Linked DNA regions of Homo sapiens: all the other regions are linked to region 1. The links are contacts of gene promoters, found by promoter capture Hi-C in human tissues and cell types (Jung and others, 2019). All regions are on one chromosome and are shown on one strand. The core of a region is centred on a gene start or on the middle of the fragment in contact, and the rest is flanking DNA. Distances in the headings are between cores, read along the strand shown.

Region 1 (3,258 bases), core at 458-2,957:
ATGTGCACTCCAGCCTGAGCGACAGAGTGAAACTGTGTCTCCAAAAAAAAAAAAAAAAAAAAAAAAGCCAGGTGCGGTGGCTCACGCCTGTAATCCCAACACTTTGGGAGGCCAAGGCGGGTGGATTATCTGACGTCAGGAGTTCGAGACCAGCCTGGCCAACATGGTGAAACCGCATCCCTATTAAAAATACAAATATTAGCTGGGCGTGGTGACCTGCACCTGTAATCCCAGCTACTCTGGAGGCTGAGACAGGAGAATCCCTTGAACATGGAAGGCGGAGGTTGCAGTGAGCCGAGATCGCACCACTGCACTCCAGCCTGGGCGACAGAGCAAGACTCCGTCCCGGGGAAAAAAAAAAAAGGTGTCTAAATGGGAGTCAATAAATTGACTGACCTCAATTTCCAAGCTCAGCTATTCCCAGCAGTGCCACTTATCAAAGATCTGGGAATCATCTTTCAAGATGTTTTAAGACATCTTTTCTCCAAAAAATCCAGTCTGATTAACTTCTACATTCTTGGTAAGTTTAGCCTCTATACTAGAGTCTATAAGACTTGATGCCAAATAGACTCACTTTTGGTATATCCAAAGGAAGCTAGTAGATTGAAGTGATGAAACTAAGACTGAAAGATTTTCTGCCTCAGTGACAAGTTACGTGAGTAATTCTATGGTGGTTCTATTACCCCACAATGAGTAGACATACAGCGTACCAATTTCTACATATTACACATGTATTGCACAAAAGCGGCATATCCAGATGCCATAGAAAGTGAAAACAAGAGTTCACACAGAAACAGTTGGGACACTGAGCCCCACCATTTACAAGCCCTTGGGCAAGTTAAGTAATTCTTTGGAGCCACAGTTTACCATCTTACAAAATGAGTACTGCCATATTTACATCCTAATTCATTCAATAAATATTTATTGAGTAACTACTAAGTGTCAAGCAATGTACTAGGTGCGGTGGATACATAAAACAGTGAGCAAAACTAACAAGAGTCCTCACCTTAACGGGTCTTATATTCCACTAGAATTGAATGATAGGCTAGAAAGTATAAGCAATTTGAAAGCCCAAAGCAATAAATGAGGTGCCACTGTTACCTCCATAAGATGACGTGCAAACTAAACAGCCAATGGATAAAAAAGTTTCAAACGGTAATTAGCCTTGTCACTAATCAAATGCTCAACAATAACTGCGAGGTGCGGGGGTAGTGGGGGTGCGGAAGGAAAGCGAGGTACAATGATCTCTCCTCTCAATGAGCAGGCAGCAGAATCCAAATCCAGTCTTCAGAAGGAATTCCTTACTCCGTGCTCTTGTTTGCTACAACCTGAGTTTCCCTCTGCAGCCCCCCACTCCCCCGCTAATCTTCATTTTTACTCTCTCCGTCACTCCAACCAGTCTCTTACTCTACCTTGTTCTACCTAAACTCCTCACCCCAGAGCTGGTCTCCCAACCCGGTCTCCTTCCCGCCCCCGCCCTTTTCCTCTCAACAATCTCATTCCAACCTCTTCTCCCACCAAACCAGGTACTCCTTTCACACTCCTTCCCGCTGAACCCTCCCGCTTCGGTCCTCCCCTTGGACTGAGTCCCCGGCCACAGTGGCGCGGACTGGAATTACCCTCTGTGGGCCCGGGGCCACTACTCACCTCACAAACTTCAGCCCCTGAGACGGAGCCCGAACGTTACACCGGAACCGGAAACCTTCTGACCGCCCTACGGCGTGCCGTCGCTACCGCCACCGCCGCCGCCACGCCGCTGTCTCCCAACACGTGACCAAGGAGGGCCGGGCCGCCAATTCGCGCAGCCGTATTTGCCACTTTCTTGGAGGCTGAACGCATGCGTCGCAGAACCGAAAAGTTTCCCTGAGCAATTTCCTTGCTTTCTATTTCCCAGGCTAAACCTATTAGCTAGATTTCTGCCAAGGTTTTTTTTTTAGCTTTTTTTTTGAGACGGAGTCTCGCTCTGTCGCCCAGGTTGGAGTGCAGTGACGCGATCTCGGCTCACTGCGAGCTCCGCCTCCCGGGTTCACGCCATTCTCCTGCCTCAGCCTCCCGAGTAGCTGGGACTACAGGCGCCCGCCACCACGCCCGGCTGATTTTTTGTATTTTTAGTAGAGCCGGGGTTTCACCGTGTTAGCCAGGATGGTCTCGATCTCCTGGCCTCGTGATCCGCCCGCCTCAGCCTTCCAAAGTGCTGGGATTACAGGCGTGAGCCACCGCGCCCGGCCGATTTCTGCCAAGTTAATGTCTTTAACTTCCTGAAGCGGAAATTGGGCTACTTGCTGTTTTCCTCATATGGAGAATAAGTGCGCAAAAGTAAACTTAGGCTAGAATGAAGAGCGAGGCTTCTGCGTTTGTGTTCAAACACAGCCTTTCTGGTAGAAAGTAAACCCTTTCTCCCTAATTTAACAGTGGTGTCAGGCCGGGCGCCGTGGCTCACGCCTGTAATCCCAGCACTTTGGGCTCAATAAATGACAAGTGAGACCTACCAGTATTGTTTTCTCCATTCTATCAATAGGTCTATATATTAACTTCTCTCCAAAATGAGGCTCTAACCTACTGACCCTTTATTTTTTATTTTTATTTTTTATTTTTTGAGACGGAGTCTCGCTCTGTCGTCAGGCTGGAGTGCATTCGGCTCACTGAAACTTCCGCCTCCCGAGTAGATGGGACTACAGGCGCGCGACCACCACGTCCAGCTAACTTTTGTATTTTTAGTAGAGACGGGGTTTCACCATGTTGGCCAGGATGGTCTCCATCTCTTGACCGCGTGATCCGCCCACCTCGGCCTCCCAAAGTGCTGGGATTACAGGGTTGAACCACCGCGCCCGGCCCCTACTGACTCTTTAAATCGATGATTCATAACAACATGTGTGTGGACAAAGATAGTTTGGAAAAAGATTGTCCAGTATTATGACACAATTTCTTATATGAGAAATGGAAAAAATTCCATTATTTTTATATTATAAACTATCCAAACTAAAGTTCCAAAATGTCTTCTTGGTGGTAGGCTGACTAGAAGATGCAGTTGTTCTTCAGGGAGGTTATTCACATTCCCCAGATAGTAGGAGATTTTTGTATCTAAAGATAACAATGTACATACCAAGCCCCACCTTCCCTGATGGGGCAGCACGACATAACAGGATAAAGCCTGGCTCTGAAGGAACAAGTTGGGGGAGTTTGAACCTACTGCTCAACTTATTCACAAATCAGTTTCCCCACCTACAGCTTCTAACACCAATGTCTCACAAAATATTC
Region 2 (3,258 bases), core at 234-2,733, 660 kb before region 1:
AAAGGTGGCCTGGTGTGGTGGTTAAAAAAAAATACGACTTGGGGGGATCGGCTGACCTAGATGAGAATACCACCTCCGTCATGAGCTGAGTGACCTTGGGCAAGCCTCTTAATCTCCCTGAGCCCCAGTTTCCTCATCTGGAAAATGGAAATAATAAGCCTTGCCTCACAGGGGTGTTGTGAGAATGGGTTTGACACACCTACTGTGGCGCCTGACATACAAGAATGAAGGCATTCCACAAACATTTCTCCAACATCACTAGTTCCTCCTTCCTGGCTCCTCCTTGGTCTACAGATTGGCTCTAAAAGGCAGTCTCAAGTGCCGGGGGAAAGGGGCTCACCTTGGCCAGTAATGGCCCTCAGTAGCCTCTGCGCATCCTTGTCCACGCTGAAGTTCAAGAAGGTCCTGAGGGTGCCCAGGGTCCCCCACGCTGCAGTCTGTGGGAGCACAGGGTAGTTGGCAAGGGCCAGGGCCAGGCTGCCTACACCTCCTCAGCATAACCTCAGGGCCTGTCCTCCACTTTCCTGCCTCCCATCCTCTCACAGCCCGAGCTGAGATACTAAAAGTGATCTCTAAAATCCCAACAGCCCCTACCTTGCTGGCCAGGCCCAGGTGGCTGAGGATCTCCTGGGTGAGGGACGGTGCCATCTTCCCGCCAGTCACAGACATGGTGCTACTGGTTGCCCTGGGGAAGGAAACAGGAGCCCACAGAGCTGAATTTCCTGGCCCTTCAGGGACTCCTTATGACCCCCCCGAGACCCTGGACCCTGGGTTCCAGTCACCTGTTCCTTTCCTTGCTGCAGAAAAAAAGATCAACCTGCTTAGGCTTGGAGCCAGAAATGGAGCTGAAATGGTGAGGTAAGAGGGGAGCCCCCACCTTCCCCACCTCTCCCCACTCCTTTAGGAAGTGGGGATTGATGCGGAATGCTCCTGGACCAGGCGCCAACCCTCCCTGATGCCAGGGTCAGCACCAAAGCTCCTCAGGCCTTGGTCCGCGGTAGATGCCTCCCTTCTGAGGTCTATGGCCCTCCTTCCTGGGCCTGGCTGGGGTCTCCTGGGCAGTGCAGGGGAGCTGAGGTGAGGTGGCAGGATTAACCACGCAGAGTGGAAGACAACTCGAAATAGCATCTTCCCCCACCGGCAGCCCCAGCTGACAAGCAACCCTCAATTCCTGCCTGTACAGCTGCCTACCTGCTCAGCAGCACAGGAGCACAGGCCGGAATCTCTAGGTCAGCAGGTGCAATCTCTTAGCTGATGTGAGCAAGAGTTCTTGCAAGTACGTGGATGCCTGGACAGAAAGGAGGCACTCTCATGTTGGAAAAGGAAAACTCATTTTTCCCTCCCCCAAGCAATCAACAAGCCCTCCTGGCATGGGGCCGTGGGCCCAGTACTTACTCAGAGGTGCCAGAGGTGAGGTGGGTGTCGTTGTTGTGGCCTGGTAGCTTGCCTGTGTGAGCACTGCCTCCGGTGTGGCCTGGTAGAGGAAAGTGGGGGTGTGTGCAGCCTAGGCTGAACAGCCAGTCAGATGACCTCTCTTAGGGACGAACCCAGCAGTTGTCTGACTCTGGCCCCTCCCAGACGTGGGAGAGGACCGGGCTGTACAGAGTCCCACATGCAGACACCTTCCTGCCCAGCATCTCTTCTCCCAGGAACTGGGCCTCAATCCATGTGAGTGAACTCCACTCAGCCTCTCAGCGGCTCAGCCTCAAACACAGGAGGCTTTTATGCACTGCCTTCCCTGTGGGTCCAGGTGGGACCACAGAGACCTAGTCTCAAAGTCCAGCTTCTGACCTGGCTCTGCCCCAGCTTCTGACCTGGCTCTGCCTCTGGCTCCAGCTCCCTGGGGGGCAGGTCAGACAGGCTGCAGGCTGATTTCAAGGCTGATAGGGAAAAACCTGTTGGGGCACATACCAGCAGGGCACCCCAGCCTGCACCCCAGAGGGGGTCCCAGCCCAGAAACTCCCTTGACTGCTGCCTTACTAGAGCCAGCTGACCTAGGTGGAGAGTGCCCAGGGATTGTGTATATCTGTGGAGAAGGAAGGGCACAAGTATTTGGGAGTGGAAGTTGATGAACAGAGTCAAGAGAGAAAAATGCAAAGGGTGTTACCTTCAGAGGGAAGCTCTATGCTCCCAAAAGGCAACAGGGAGATGGGGGAGGCTCCCTTGCCTGGTTTCTTAGATTGCTTCTGTTGCCTTTTGGCAGCCTGGGCCCTGTGGCTGTTTTAGCTGCAGGTGATGCAACCCCAGCAGCTGGACTTGAGGCTGTCTCTGCACAGAGCAGCAGGTGAACAGCCCTGTGGAGCCCCCGCCCCGCCATGCAGCAACTGCTCCAGCCTCACAGCTGGCTCCCTCAGGTCTAAACACAGCCTCTTTCCTGCCTCCCTGGAGAGCCTGGGTAGGGGCGGGGCACAGAAGCTACAGCCCTGCCTCCACTCACTCCTCTGCCTCTCTCCCAACTCAGGAAGGCCTTCACTGGCATTCCTACATCCCTGGAGGAGGGACCTGCAGTGGCTCCACCACACTGAGTAGACCATGCCGGAGGACACGCCATGAAAGGATATTTCTGTGGCGGTAATCACTGCTCCTCACTTTTCTCTCCTGTTAAAAGGAAAACATGCACCTGTGTCAGAACTGGAGAATGAGGGTTCAATATCCAGCTCTGCCACCTATGTTCTGTAAGCTTCGCTAGTCCTTTCAGCTCTCTAAATGGGAGGATTGAGAGAGACGGAGGCTGTGGGACATGCTGGGGCCTCCGAGGACAGGTTTCCTGGGATGATTAAATGAAGTAATGTGTCCACTAAAGAACTTATCCATGTAACCAAACACCACCTTGTCCCCAAAAACTATTGAACTCATAAAAATAAATAAATAAATAAATAAATAAATAAGGTAATGTGGCCAGGCACGGTGGCTCATGCCTGTAATCCCAGCACTTTGTGAGGCCGAGGCGGGTGGATCATGAGGCAGGAGATCGAGACCAGCCTTGGCTTACACAGTGAAACCCCGTCTCTACTAAAAATACAAAAAATTAGCCGGGCATGGCGGCGCATGCCTGTAATCCCAGCTACTCGGGAGGCTGAGGCAGGAGAATCACTTGAACCTGGGAGGCAGAGGTTGCAGTGAGCTGAGATGGCGCCACTGCACTCCACAGCCTGGGCGACAGAGTGAGACTCCGTCTCAAAAAAAAAAAAAAAAAAAAAAAGTAATCTGTGTAATTGCATGTGGCAGAGAAAAGTGCCCTGTAAAGTAGGGGTATTA
Region 3 (3,258 bases), core at 641-3,140, 620 kb before region 1:
ACTCCTGACCTCAGGTGATTCACTTGCCTTGGCCTCCCAAAGTGCTAAGATTACAGGGATGAGACACTGGGCCCGGCCAAAAAACATATATTCTTTTTCCTCTATCAGATTCCTATGCTGCCAATAACCATTTAGTCTCCATTTCTTTCTTCTGTGTGAATTGTATTCCCCTGACCATTAATCAATCCTCATTATTCTCTTCCTAGTTTTCTCTTTGAGGAAAGAAAAGGAAAAAAAACAGGAGGAGAAAGAGGAAGAAAGAATCACCCACATGACTCCTGTGGTAAAGAAAGAGTAAGGGTTTCAGTCCACTGGGGACTAAGAAGACAAAAGCTAATTGTGGTATCTGGTCTATGGCACGAACAGGGCAGGTGCTGTGCTCCCAGCCTCTACCCCTTTACAGTCCTCTGTCCAGGTACCTGAGCTTGTTTTTGACGTTTGGTGTCTCAGCTACAATGCCAGCATAGAGCCAGACCTGATTCCCATCTTTGTATTTGGCGACCACCCGACTGCCCACATACAGCTTGTCAGCAGGAGGGTGGTAATCATAGGCAATATGGTTCCCCGACAGTAGACTCTTTCCTTTGTTGTCAAATTTCACCTTGTATTTCTTCCCTGGCCCTGAGTAAAAGGGAAAGATAAATCTTTTTAAACACTGCCAGTTTCTGTATAAATCCAGGCTGCTATGTGAGAGACAAATGGGAAGGTTATGGGGAAAAGAAACAATCAGCAGTGGAGGGTGCAGGTTGCCTTTCAGGAGTGGTTCCTCCAAGTTTGCACATACCAACTGTCTGGATGGCAATAAGGGTGCCTTTGTGCCAAGTCTTAGTTCTCTTCTTGCCCAGAATTCGCATGCTGACTATCAGGTCACCATCTTTGCTTAGTTCTCCAGACATCTGACTCAAGGTTCCTATAGAAGAAGCAAAGTTATTCTCAAGAGTTATGACATAGATTCGGTAGAGAACGGGAAGGTAAAGAGGGTAGTATGGTAATTAGGGAAAGTGGGGTAATTTTTTTTTTTTTTTTGAGATGGAGTCTCACTCTGTCACCAGGCTGGAGTGCAGTGGTGCGATCTTGGCTCACTGGAACCTCCGCCTCCCTGGGTTCCAGCGATTCTCCTGCCTCAGCCTCCCGAGTAGCTGGGACTACAGGCACGCAAGGTGGCACCACTACACCCAGCTAATTTTTATATTTTTAGTAGAGACGGGGTTTCACCATGTTAGCCAGGATGGTCTCTATCTTTTGACCTCATGATCCGCCTGCCTCGGTCTCCCAAAGTGCTGGGATTATAGGCATGAGCCACTGTGCCCGGCCAATTTTTTTTTTTTTTTTTGAGATGGAGTCTCGTTCTGTTGCCCAGGCTGGAGTGCAGTGGCATGATCTCGGCTCACTGCAACCTTCACCTTCCGGGTTCAAGCGATTCTCCTGCCTCGGGCTCCTGAGTAGCTGAGATTACAGGCGTGCGCCACCACGCCTGGCTAATTTTTGTATTTTTAATAGAGACAGAGTTTCACCATGTTGGTCAGGCTGGTGTCGAACTCCTGACCTTGTGATCCGCCCACCTCGGCCTCCCAAAGTGCTGGGATTACAGGCGTGAGCCACCGTGCCTGGCCCATCTGGAGAATTTTTAAACATTTTTTTTTGTAGAGATGGGGTTTCACTATGTTGCCGAGGCTGGTCTTTAATGCTGGGCCTCAAGTGATCCTCCTGCCTCAGCCTCCCAAAGCTGCTAGAATTACAGATATGAGCCACCACACCTGGCCTCAAACCTTTTTGTAACAAGAGTCTGAGTGATTCTCTTCTCCCTAATCTCCACCTGGAAGCAGTCATGAGGATGGAAACAGCCTAAATGTAGGACGCTAAAGAGGTATTGAGATAAAACCATCACAGACTGGAAAAATCACCATCAATGTAACTGGGATTTCATAACTACTAAGGATACTGAGTCTGGCATGTCACAAACAATTAGCAGACATAAGACTTAAGACAAAATCTCTGTAAGAATTCACCTCCCATCTGTACCCAGGTATTTCTTGACCCTAACCTTTATGCAGATCCTGGGAACTGCTCTTCTTGTTGACAGCATCCATGAACTTCTGAACATCTTGAGCTGACTTTCTTAAGGCAGCCATAGCTTCACGGAGCTGTAGAAAAGGGGATGAGGAAAACAAGTTTTGAAACAGTAGCATGGGTTACAAATAACTTCAGAATAAGAAACAACTTGTATTTCACAAAACAAAATGGAGTGAGTTATGTTTGGAAGCTTATGGTTACTTTATCTGGCAAAGCTGCCCTTACTCTTTTTTTTTGATATGGAGTTTAGCTATTGTTGCCCAGGCTGGAGTGCAATGGCACAATCTCGGCTCACCATAACCTCCACTTCCTGGGTTCAAGCGATTCTCCTGCCTCAGCCTCCGGAGTAGCTGGAATTACAAGCATGCGCCACCATGCCCAGCTAATTTTTTTTTTTTTTTTGAGATGGAGTCTGGCTCTGTTGCCCAGCCTGGAGTGCAATGGCATGATTTAGGTTCACCGCAACCTCTGCCTCTCGGGTTCAAGCGATTCACCTGTCTCAACCTCCAAAGCAGCTGGGACTACAGGCACGTGCCACCATGCCCAGCTAATTTTTGTATTTTTAGTAGAGACAGGGTTTCACTATGTTAGCCAGGCTGGTCTCAAACTCCTGACCTCGTGTTCCACCCGCCTCAGCCTCCCAAAGTCCTGGGATTACAGGCGTGAGCCACTGTGCCCAGCCTGATTTTGTGTTTTTAGTAGAGATGGGGTTTCTCCATGGTTAGGCTGCTCTTGAACTGCCGACCTAAGGTGATCCACCTGCCTCAGCCTCCCAAAGTGCTGGGATTACAGGCGTAAGCCACCACGCCTAGCCTCTTTTTTTTTTTTTTCTGAGACAGAGTCTTGCTCTGTCCCCCAGGCTAGAGTGCGGTGGTGCGATCTCAGCTCATTGCAACCTCTGCCTCCTGGGTTCCACTGATTCTCCTGTCTCAGCCTCCCAAGCAGCTGGGATTACAGGCATGCACCACCATGCCCAGCTAATTTTTATATTTTTTTAGTAGAGATGGGGTTTCGCCATTTTGGCCAGGCTGGTCTTGAACTCCTGACCTCAGGTGATCCACCCACCTGAAACTCCCCAAGTGCTGGGATTACAGTCGTGAGCCAATGTGCCCAGCCCAAAGCTGCCCTTGCTTAGAAACCTAGTTCAAAAATCAACGTTTCAATGTTAGGAAGCTTTTCTTGATT

Evidence for each region. The method cuts DNA at HindIII sites, captures the fragments that hold promoters and counts their contacts. A contact is called where the count stands out against the background at its distance.
Region 2: the fragment with the promoter of ANXA9 here is called in contact with the fragment with the promoter of PRPF3 in region 1 in 2 of the 25 tissues and cell types used here (liver and lymphoblastoid cells).
Region 3: a fragment that was not itself captured here is called in contact with the fragment with the promoter of PRPF3 in region 1 in 1 of the 25 tissues and cell types used here (aorta).

Annotation. Positions count from the first base shown.
Region 1 is chr1:150,319,982-150,323,239 of GRCh38, reverse strand. PRPF3 (pre-mRNA processing factor 3) reads right to left here and starts at 1,707. Exons shown (of 16, transcript NM_004698.4): 1 at 1,648-1,707. RefSeq lists enhancers at 1,609-1,658, 1,849-1,898, 2,028-2,593. The HindIII fragment of the contact is 24,557 bases long and covers 1-3,258 here.
Region 2 is chr1:150,980,517-150,983,774 of GRCh38, reverse strand. ANXA9 (annexin A9) reads right to left here and starts at 1,483. Exons shown (of 14, transcript NM_003568.3): 1 at 1,396-1,483; 2 at 1,192-1,288; 3 at 595-685; 4 at 341-437. The coding sequence starts at 669. LOC105371438 (a long non-coding RNA gene) reads left to right here and starts at 2,270. Exons shown (of 3, transcript XR_922135.3): 1 at 2,270-2,354; 2 at 2,462-2,571. RefSeq lists an enhancer at 98-959. The HindIII fragment of the contact is 19,915 bases long and covers 1-3,222 here.
Region 3 is chr1:150,940,215-150,943,472 of GRCh38, reverse strand. SETDB1 (SET domain bifurcated histone lysine methyltransferase 1) reads right to left here. Exons shown (of 22, transcript NM_001366418.1): 5 at 2,045-2,144; 6 at 785-910; 7 at 420-621. Among named protein-coding and RNA genes, the nearest start is that of SETDB1, 15 kb to the right of the region's middle. RefSeq lists a cis regulatory region at 2,807 and an enhancer at 2,735-2,879. The HindIII fragment of the contact is 7,414 bases long and covers 1-3,258 here.